2 separate regions of the Homo sapiens genome follow, and region 2 is linked to region 1. Evidence: promoter capture Hi-C in human tissues and cell types (Jung and others, 2019). All regions are on one chromosome and are shown on one strand. Each heading gives the region's core, a stretch centred on a gene start or on the middle of the fragment in contact. The rest is flanking DNA. Distances are from core to core; before and after follow the strand shown. Region 1 holds the start of CETN1 (centrin 1). Region 2 has its middle 30 kb from the start of LINC01925.

What was found. The method cuts DNA at HindIII sites, captures the fragments that hold promoters and counts their contacts. A contact is called where the count stands out against the background at its distance.
Region 2: a contact is called between a fragment that was not itself captured here and the fragment with the promoter of CETN1 in region 1, in 2 of the 25 tissues and cell types used here (IMR-90 fibroblasts and neural progenitor cells).

The regions. Positions count from the first base shown.
Region 1 is chr18:576,950-582,496 of GRCh38, forward strand. CETN1 (centrin 1) reads left to right here and starts at 3,431. Exons shown (of 1, transcript NM_004066.3): 1 at 3,431-5,165. The coding sequence starts at 3,460. The coding sequence ends at 3,978. The HindIII fragment of the contact is 12,122 bases long and covers 807-5,547 here.
Region 2 is chr18:542,399-547,945 of GRCh38, forward strand. No RefSeq gene overlaps it. Among named protein-coding and RNA genes, the nearest start is that of LINC01925, 30 kb to the left of the region's middle. The HindIII fragment of the contact is 7,899 bases long and covers 1-5,547 here.

The DNA.
Region 1 (5,547 bases), core at 2,181-4,680:
GCCCCTTTCCCTTATTCTTCTCTTAAGGTGAACCGCCCACATGCATAGTGCCCTGCTTGGGATTGGGAGGTGAGCATGGGCAGTGTGTTTAAGAAGTTGTATGCGTGATCACCTGAGGCTTTCTTCCCCTTTTCCAGTGGAACGCCCCTAGAAGGTCATACGCTGCCATTTTGTCTCTTAATGCGCATGCTCAAGCCCACTGGCCCAATTCCTGAGATCTTATTGGAAGCTGCCGACTACCAATTTCAAGTGTATTCATCTGTTGGGAAACTGCCTCTCCCTGTTGTGGCCATGATCAATGATCATTTTAGAGAGGCAGTGTGACAACTGCCAAACCATCCCCTGATCATCACCTGACATTCCTGGCGGGTTGGGAGGGGAGCCCTTCTCTGCCCCGCTCATGCCTGACTAGCTACCTACTGTAACAAAATCTGTATCATGTCTTCCCAGTGATTCTATATTTTGGTAATATAGAATCAACTTGTGGAGAAGGCAGCATGATGTAGTGAACAAAGCTTCAGCAGGCCAGGATTTAAATCCCAGAGCCACCATTTATTGGCCATGTACCATTAAATATGTGTTACAGGCCTCTCCTGGGCCTCATTTTTTTCATCTGCAAAATAGGAAATGATGGCAAGGATCAAATAAGATGACAACTATGAGAAGCACGCCCAAAGCTAGGCACACATTAAATGTGTTTCCCTTCCCTTCTTAAGTCAGAGTTTGGACTCTGAACATAATGTAACTCCCCACCAAGAGCTGACTGTGACTATGGGCACTGTTTCTATGAAGGGAGCTCTTGGTGGCCCTTTGTTGTAACTGTTGATTGCACACATCTGGAAACCATGACAACCGTTTTGCTTTTAGTTCAGCTTGGCCCAAATGTAGCTCTATATAAGGCAGCTTCCATACTTCAGTTTTTCCCAACACATCATAGCTTGGCTTGAATTTGGGCAGAAGGGTGGGTGCCAAAGGAAATGTACAATGTCTGAGAAAAATTCTTATTCAACTAACAATTACCCAGATCTGTATGGCCCCACTAGGGCACTGTTCCTGGAGCTTTTGTGTACATTCTCCCACTGAAAATGCAGTGGGAAGCTTTATGATGATGCCTACTTTGCAGGTGTTTCGATGACTCTGGGTGGTTTAAGTGACTTTCCAAAGTCACAGAGATAATAAGGCATAGACTTGGGATAAGATCCCAGGCTTCTGACATGGAAAAAAGCAGGTCACAAGGATTTGCGGTGTTAGAAGAACAGCAGCTGTAGTGTCTGCCTGCCAGTGTGCCTTGAGTTGACACTGTCCACAACAAGTACTGGAAGGCAGGAGAGGGGAGGTCCTATGTAAGTTTCCTTGGCCTTTAGAAGAAACCCTGTGTCCAGGCTCTCTGTCAACTAAGTCACATATCGAACTGGGGCAGGTAGTGATATATGGCTAATTAAATGTGCCATGTAAACAATATCTGACCACTAATTTTAAAAAACAGTTTGTAAAACATTCCTGGCATCATTTAATCTTTTGGGGTTTTCACTTGTTGTATTCAGAAGGTATTTTAGGACCAACCTTAATTGTCATGCATTCATTCAACGAATATTTATTAACCTACCTACTGTGTTGTATCCAGCACTGTTTTGTTTTGTTGTTGTTTGTTTTTTTGGGGACAGAATCTCACTCTGTTGCCTAGGGTGGAGTGCAGGGGCACAATATCTGCTCACTGCAACCTCCGCCTCCTGGGTTCAAGCGATTCCCGTGCCTCATACTCCCAAGTAGCTGGGATTACAGTTGTGCGCAGCAACTCTCAGCTAATTTTCGTATTTTTCATAGAGACAGGGTTTCACCTTGTTGGCCAGGCTGGTCTTGAACTCCTGACCTCAGGTGATCCTCCCGCCTTGGCCTCCCAAATTACTGGGATTACAGGTGTGACCCACTGCACCCAGCCATAAAACTCTTTAACACAAACTCTTCAAAGTGACATCTTTTGTAACCTTCATAGGTTACAAAAGGTATTGATATATTAATAGATTGAGATTTGATTGCGGGGGGGCGGGGCAGGGGGAGAATGCTAAAAAAATAAGTCAGCTTTCTTTTCTGTAACTATTTAAAAGAATGCAAAGTAATTCTACAGGCAATTCCTTGGTGGGCTTATTTGGTAATTTTTTTTTTCTTTTCCATTTTCCTCTTGCTCTTTGGTTTGTAGGAGAACCGCTTTATTCCCAGGAGGCAATTTTGAGTCCCAACATGTCCTGCATCATCTCCTGTGCCCATTGCCAAAGGAAGGCGACCAGAGCGTGGGTTTCAGCACAGCTCTGATTGGATGATAAGCAAGGAGAGTAATGTGCTGCTAGGAGGTTAGAGAAAAGAAAATACTAGAATATACCAGAATGTAGTATTTCCACTTCCCTCCCTCCAAATCAAAAGCCTCATGAATGAAATTATGACCATTATTCAAGTGCAATTATACTGAGTATGTAAAATGGAAACACTGAAAGTAAATCATACATTTGGATATTACATTTCATATTTGAGAACATGCCAGAAACATTGTATTATTGTTGAGTGTAATGTCAGGAGACAAACTTCTACGCATTTTATACATAAATTTTTCCATTTTCTCTGTTTCCCATTTATGTCAAGTTGAACACATGGTATGACTTTTAATATTCTCTCTTCCTTCTCCTTCCCCACATTGAATGTCAAGTGATCACACTCAATCTTGATTATCCTAAATTTACCCTTAGGACCTGTCACCTCATTGGGTGTTGCCGCTAGAACAAGAGGGTTTTTTAAATGGTATAAAAAGGAGAGGCCCGGCTTGGTAGCTCATGCCTGTAATTCTAGCACTTTGGGAGGCTGGGGCGGGAAATCCCTTGATCCCAGGAGTTTCAGACCAGCCTGGGCAACATGGTGAGACTCTGTCTCTATAAAAAAAAAAATTTTTTTTTTTAATTTAGCTGGGTGTGGTGGCATGCCCTGTAGTCTCAGCTACTATGGAGGCTGAGGTGGGAGGATCACTTGATCCTGGAAGGTGGAGGCTGCAGTAAGCTGAGTGGCACCAGTGCACTCCTGTCAAAAGAGAGAGAGGAGAGAGAGAGAGAGAGAGAGGAAGAGTCCCTAAAGAAACCTATAAAACTGGGGTCTTATGGATGCTAGCACATATCTTGGAAAGAACTGCCAGCGCCAGTGGATTACAGAAGACAACTGTGGCTACAGGCTGTTCTTGCCAGCTCAGGCGTCAACTCGTGGAAACCGGTTAATGACCCGAGGGGACAGCGGATTCTCGCCTAAGCAAGATCCCGCAGATGGGAGGGCGTAGGAAGAGGTTCCCCGGGCCGGCTCCAGGCCCCAGCGGGCGTGGGCGTTGGCAGTGAGCGAGGGGTGGTCCCGCGCCGCGCCGGCGGGGGGCGCCCGAATGAGAGCGCGGGGCGGTGCCGTTGGGACCACGGCGGCCAGAGCGGCAGGATGGCTTCCGGCTTCAAGAAGCCCAGCGCTGCCTCCACCGGCCAAAAGAGAAAGGTGGCACCTAAGCCCGAGCTCACTGAGGATCAGAAGCAAGAAGTTCGGGAAGCATTTGACCTCTTCGACGTGGACGGAAGTGGGACCATCGACGCGAAGGAGCTGAAGGTGGCCATGAGAGCGCTGGGCTTCGAACCCAGGAAGGAAGAGATGAAGAAAATGATCTCCGAGGTGGACAGGGAAGGCACGGGGAAGATCAGCTTCAATGACTTCCTGGCCGTGATGACGCAGAAGATGTCCGAGAAGGACACCAAAGAAGAAATCCTGAAGGCCTTCAGGCTCTTTGATGACGATGAGACCGGGAAGATCTCGTTCAAAAACCTGAAGCGTGTGGCCAACGAGCTGGGGGAGAACCTCACGGATGAGGAGCTGCAGGAGATGATCGACGAAGCTGATCGGGATGGGGACGGCGAAGTGAACGAGGAGGAGTTCCTTCGGATCATGAAGAAGACCAGCCTTTACTGAAGTCGGTTCAGAAGCTAAAGTGACTCTCTGGGTTGCCTGCTTCCATTTTGTGAAACCTTAGAGGACAGCGGCTGCCTGTCCCTTCTTCACCCCCTCACCCCCATAATTTGTCTAGATCTATTTCCATATCTCTAGTTCAATAATAGAATTTGAAAGATGCTTGTAATGTGAGTTTTGGGTTTTAATTCTCAAGAGTCAACCTGGAGCACATGAGGTTAAACAAAGGGCCCTGAAGTTTGAGTGCGCCCTCCATTTGCCCTGTGCTGAACTTGCTGTTCATCTGTTGATCTGGAGGCAGGACAGCTTCTGGGACACACAAAAATGTGGTTCCCTTTGTCACTTCTTTGGTGGTCTTAAATTATCTTGCTTCATATATCATTCCTTAAATTCCAGTCATTGTTCCAGCATAATGAGATGGAATCTGCCAGTAGATTTGCCTAGCCTGTCCACTTAGCTGAATACCAGTTTGAAGGAAAACAGGGTGGCCACTTACAAACTTACGGAGCTCAGGACAGATAATCTTATAAAGAATAGACTTGCTTGGGTGGTAGTACGTTGTGCAATTTTGACTATTCACTGGCTTTATACCTGCAAATGATTCTTCGTTCATGTGTAAATTGTCCACCATGGGTTTATCTAGGGCTAGTATGTATACCTGGGCTACAGAATAAAAATAAAATCTAATACTGGCCCAAGCAAAGTATAATTTGCTTAAGAGGTTACGCTAACAAACGATTTTGAGTAAATATTTACAAATGTAGGATCTTAGTTTAGGAAATTATAACAAATACCTTAATATAACATTTTAAGCTACTTATAGTCCTTGGAAATAGCAACAAATATCTTAGTTATTGGACTATTATAACCTTAGTCATCTTATTACTGCTTGATTATGAGACACTCTCCCTGCTAATCCTTAGAACATCTTGGTTCTTGGTACTTGACTTTTAGCCCCTCTGACATATAGTTGATGTCAGAGTGTCTGGCATTTCAGTAGTGCTCTATTTTACAAATCCCAGTAAACTGCTCCACTGTGGCTTGTTTATGTGTTAATACTGCTTGTTTTCTGTTATAAATTATTTTTTGCTTTGGAGTAAGATATCATCATTTTGCATAGCTACAAATCTGAAGTTAAAGAAAATTTTAAAAATGTAATTGTGGGAAAATAACAAATAGATCTGCTGAGATGGAGGCTTTGACTAATGTTTTAATAACAGGCAACAAAACAAAGAGGCAGGATATTTTGGTCACAACTAAACCTAAATTAAATCCTCATACAAAGCCCCATTAAGATAAATGCTCAAATTCTGGGAACATTTCACTTGCTTTGCCAGCAATTTTACCCTTCAGAGGGTGTGGATCTAATCAGGGGAACAAACTACCCTGGGCTTAATTCTCATTAACAGGGACTAATTTGTCAAAGCGGCAGTACTAGCTGAAGTGATGGGTATGGAAGCATTCACTGTGAGGATTTTGCTGAGGTGCCTGGCACAGGGTAGGGGAACTCACCCAGGCTGCAAGATGCTAACAGTTCAGGTTCAAGGTCTTAGTGTGGACTAAGGTGCAGTC
Region 2 (5,547 bases), core at 1,440-3,939, 35 kb before region 1:
CTCGTAAGAAGAAAAAAAAAAGAAAAGAAAAGACGGAGCAAGACCGTCTCAAATAAAAATAAAAATAAAATAAAATAAAAAACTAAATACAAATAAAAAACTTCAAGACAACACTAGCAGAGCATCACAACGAGCACAAGTTGCACACCCACAAAGCCAGTCCTGGGCAGTGGGTCAAACATTGTCCTGTCCCACCAAACTCAGGTGCCGGGGCTTTTCCACTCATGTCCAGAAGCTCACCTTCTGTTTCCTGGTACTTACAAGCATTTCAGGCTTTAAAAGAACAATCAATGATTATATCCACACTGGCAGATGTCAAGACATGAATGACTCAAATGGGCATGAGGACTGCTGTTTTGTAGACCCACATGCCACAGTGAAAACTCTGGCTTTGATGGCTGCTTTTTCTGTGTAGTTTGCTGTGTTCATTAGCAAAGCAATAGTCCCAAAGAACCTTAAGGCAATAGGAACAAAGAAAAACATCTTTGTCACACCCCCCCAGATTCTCTGTAGCACAATTGCAAAGCTTAGCAATTCTGGGCCCTGCCTCTGAGAAGCCACACCCAGCCCACCCAGCCTCACATACTTTGACTTAACAATTCTCGCCTTGTCCCCTTAAAACTTCCTTAGAGGAGGGATGGCACACACCAGCAAATGGCCTTGGAGGGAAGGCTTTTGGAAGATACCTCTTTTAAGAACCTTATTGCAGAATAATGAGTACATATGCAGCATTTGGGCCACAAGACAAACCACTAAGACAACTGCACCTGTGCCACTATGTTACATGTCACTTGAGAAATGAAATGGGACATACCCCCAGCCTTGGGCAGACACAATCTGACACCAAATTGCCAAGTGGCTGGGGTGGCTGTGACTCGGTGGTAGTGCAGGGTGTTGAAACAAGTATTGAACTAGAACCTAAGGGTCCTTCTTTCTTGATTTGACTTAGCCTCTTTCTAGCTGTGTGAGTTTAGATAAGTTGCATAATCTCTCTGGGTTTTAATGGCTTTGTCTCTTGAATTAGAAGGTTGGATTATCTCAACACTAGGATCTTTTCCTGTGAAGAAAGAGAAATTCTACACATATTTTGTTGAAAATATATTAACAGAAGATAGGGTAAGGAAAGGGGAAAGAGTGTGTTCAAGGGAAAAAGATGTTCATTGACATAAATAATGAAATACCCAGGAGGATGAATCATGTCCAGGACACTAGAGGAGACAAGAGAAAGGACTAATATTTAGGGATTGAAATAATTAGCTACAGAGCACGTCAGGGTGGTGGGCCAGGGAGTTGAAGGATGTTTAGGGCAAGCTCTTGGCTTAGTGTAATAGAAGAGGCGGGGAGAAAGGCTGGATGGGATACAGATTTTAATTTCAAACTTCCAAGAGGTTATTACAAACAACTGGAGAGAAGGTTGTTCTAAATTGTGTTTAATGCGAGTATTCTCTTGTTGGCAGTGATCAGCATTTCCTATAAATACCACTTACATCTTATGGAGTGAAGCTGTGACGGGGAACATGTTAGGAGAAGAGGTGAAGAAAGAGCCATGAGGGAAACTTGGAACCTGAGCCCTTGGCATGAAAAATTGGAGAAACTGAGCTCCCCTCCTTTTATTCTTTTTGGAACTTATGGCAAACAATTGCCTTTTGAATGGCTGTGATCTTATTAGTATACATTTTTGCTTTGCTTTTGAGTATTTAATGTGCTCTCCAGAGACTGGTTCAAAGCCTTTAAAATACCACTTGCCAATTTCTCCTTCTTTCTAATTAATACCAAGTGGTTACATTCAAACTGAAGTTTCAAGCTGATTCAACATAAGCAAAATTAAGTGTAGACTTGAGCTTTGGAGCCGGAATGATCTGAAAATCCCTGCTCCACCACTTGCTAGCTGTATGCCTTAGGAAAATCATAGAACCTATCAGAATTTCAAATGTATCTTCTTTAGCATGAGAATTGTTATGATTATTGAGACAACATCTAACAGTTCTTTTTCTTTTTCTTTTTCTTTTTGAGACAGAGTTTTGCTCTATCACTCAGGCTGGAGTGCAGTGATCCAATCATGGCTCACTGCAGCCTTGTCCTCCTGGGCTCAAGCAATCCTCCTGCCTCAGCCTCACATGTAGCTGGGACCACAGGTGCACATCACCATGCCTGGCTAATTTTTGTATTTTTTGTAGAGATGAGGTTTTGCCATGTTCCCCAGGCTGGTCTTGAACTTCTGACTTCAAGCAATCTGCTCACCTTAGCCTCCCGAAGTGCTGGAACTACAGGCGTAAGCCACTGTGCCCAGCCACTAAGACAGTTCTTGAAACGTAGTAGGAACTCAACAAAGAGTAGCTGTGTCTATTCTTCCATCTATACTTCCCTCTCCCTGAGAGGAAAAGCATGTGATTTGGGAGGTGGGAATTACAGTTGACTCTTGAACATCTCAGGTACTAGGGGCGCCGACCCCCGGCACAGTAAAAAATTTGAGTATACCTTCTGACTCCCCAAAACTTAACTACTCATAGCCTACAGTTGATGGAAGCCTTACCGATAACATAAACAGTCTATTAACACATACTTTGTATATGTATTACATACTGTATTTGTACAATAAAGTAAGCTAGAGAAAAGAAAATGTGATTAAGAAAATCATAAGGAAGAGAAAATATCCTTACTACTCATTAAGTGGAAGTGGACCCTCATAAAGGTCTTCATTCTCGTCGTCTTCATATTGAGTAGGCTGAGGAGGAGGAGAACAAGGAGTTGGTCTTGCTGTCTCAGGAGTGGCAGTGGCAGAAGAAAATCCACATATAGGTGGACCTCCACAGTTCAGGCCCATCCTGTTCAAGGGTCAGTGGTATTAGCACACACACTTATGTTGGTCACATTGCCAAGGGTGACCACTCACCCTGCTCCACTTTGTGCCTGCAGATGAAGGCTTGGGTAAGAGCCTCTCCTCAACATCTCAGCTCCTTATGTGGCTCTGGTGGGTGCCTTATGCATTGGCTCGGGCAGTCCCATGTGCCCGCAATTCCCATTCTTCCCTTCCCACCTCACCCCACTTTGGGGTTCCTCCTAGGGGGTAACTGATGCAGAAACTTTCCCTGACCCTGTCACTTACGGGTCCTTTCACAATACCCTGTGCACACAACACAGTAAATTTCCCTTGCTGGTTGTATTGCTATTATCTCTTTACATGTTAGTCTCCCTCACTGGTCTGTGTGTCCTGAGAGCAGGAACATGGTGTCCAGCACATGATAGGCACCCAACACTTACTGAAAGGAAGAATAAAAGTCATCATATCTAAAATGACCTTTTCTCATCAAATTGTGTTTCCTCCTTGCTTTCCCATTTTGCTGATACCAGGCGGTTTTTCTAGAAGCTCTCTCTGAAAACCCCAGTAAACCTTCCCTTGCTTCCTACTATCGCAAATAGGGTCACATGACAATCTTTGGCCAAGAATGGTGGTCAGAGGCAACATTATGTGACTGCTGAGACACACACTCAATTCTTCAATGCAAGGTTGTCACCGTTTCCTCAAAAGCACATACCCTTGCATTCAGCTGGGATAGATGTTTAAATTAAAAGTAGGATAGTACCAACAAAAATGGGAATGGATATTGAGAAGACAACCACAATATCCGGAATATCAATGGCAAAGCAATGGTGATGAGGCATATTCAATTTTGTCTTTGAATACTGTTGCTTTCATATTTCCCTACTTGATATGACACATTTATGTAATTTTGGTTGGTTTCCTGTCTACCAAGGCTGAAATTAGGGGAAATGTGTGGACACAAATAATATATTGGCCTTGGTGCCAAGATATTCAGGATACTTGGTTCCAAATGGGATTTGGCAATATTTGTGAAGTGAGAGCATGGAGTTGACAGCCCCCAAGAATTGAACATTAGTTCATTTTTATGCTGCTGATAAAGACATACCTGAAACTGAGAATAAAAAGAAGTTTCATTGGACTTACAGTTCCATATGGCTGGGGAGGCCTCAGAATCATGGTGGGAGGCAAAAGGCACTTCTTACCTGGTGGCGACAAGAGAAAAATGAGGAAGAAGCAAAAGCAGAAACCCCTGATAAACCCATCAGATCTCGTGAAACTTATTAACTATAACGAGAATAGCACAGGAAAGACAGGGCCCCATGATTCAATTACCTCCCCCTGGGAGCCTTCCACAACAAGTGGGAATTCTGGGAGATACAATTCAATTTGAGATTTGGATAAGGACACAACCAAACCATATCATTCCATCCCTGGCCCCTCCAAATCTCTTGTCCTCACATTTCAAAACAAATCATGCCTTCCCAACAGTCCCCCAAAGCCCTAACTCATTTCAGCATTAACCCAAAAGTCCACAGTCCAAAGTCTCACCTGAGACAAGGCAAGTCCCTTCCACCTAAGAGCCTGTAAAATCAAAAGCAAGCTAGTTACTTCCTAGATACACGAGGATACAGGTATTGGGTAAACACAGCCATTCCAAATTGGAGAAATTGGCCAAACAAAGGGGTTACAGGGCCCATGCAAGTCCAAAATCCAGCAGGGCAGACAAATTTTTAAGGTCCAAAATGATCTCTTTTGACTCCAGGTTTCATATCCGGGCCATGCTGATGCAAGAGGTGGGTTCCAATGGTCTTGGGCAGCTCCACTCCTGTGGCTTTGCAGAGTACAGCCTCCCTCCCAGCTACTTTCACAGGCTGGCATTTAGTGTCTGCAGCTTTTCCAGGCACATGGTGCAAACTGTCAGTGAATCTACCATTCTGGGGTCTGGAGGACAGTGACCCTCTTCTCACAGCTCCATTAGGCAGTGACCCAGTAGGGGCTATGTGTGTGGGCTCTGATCCCACATTTCCCTTGCATTGCCCTAGCAGAGGTTCTCTATGAGGGCCCTGCCCCTGCAGCAAACTTTTGCCTGGACATCCAGGAGTTGCCATACATCTTCTGAAATCTAGGCAGAGGTTCCCAAACCTCAATTCTTGACTTCTGTGCACCTGCAAGCTCAACACACGTGGAAGCTGCCAAGGTTTGGGGCTTCCACTCTCTGAAGCCACAACTCCCTATGTTGGGCCCTTTCAGCCAAAGCTGGAACAATTGGGATGCAGGGCACCAAGTCCCTAGGGTGCACACAGCATGGGGTCCTTGGGCCCAGCTCACAAAACCACTTTTTCCTCCTGGGCCTCCAGGACTGTGATGGGAGGGGCTGCTGTGAAGGTCTCTGACATGGTCTGAAGACATTTTCCCCATGGTCTTGAAGATTAACATTAGGTTCCTTGCTACTTATGCAAATTTCTTCAGCTGGCTTGAATTTCTACCCAGAAAAATGGGTTTTTCTTTTCTATTGCATAGTCAGGCTACAAATTTTCCAAACTTTTATGTTCTGCTTACCCTATAAAACTGAATGCCTTTAACAGAACTCAAGTCACCTCTTGAATGCTTTGCTGCTTAGAAACTTCTTCTGCCAGAGGCTGGGCGTGGTGGCTCACACGCCTGTAATCCTAGCACTTTGGGAGGCCGAGGCAGGCAGATCATGAGGTCAGGAGTTTGAGACC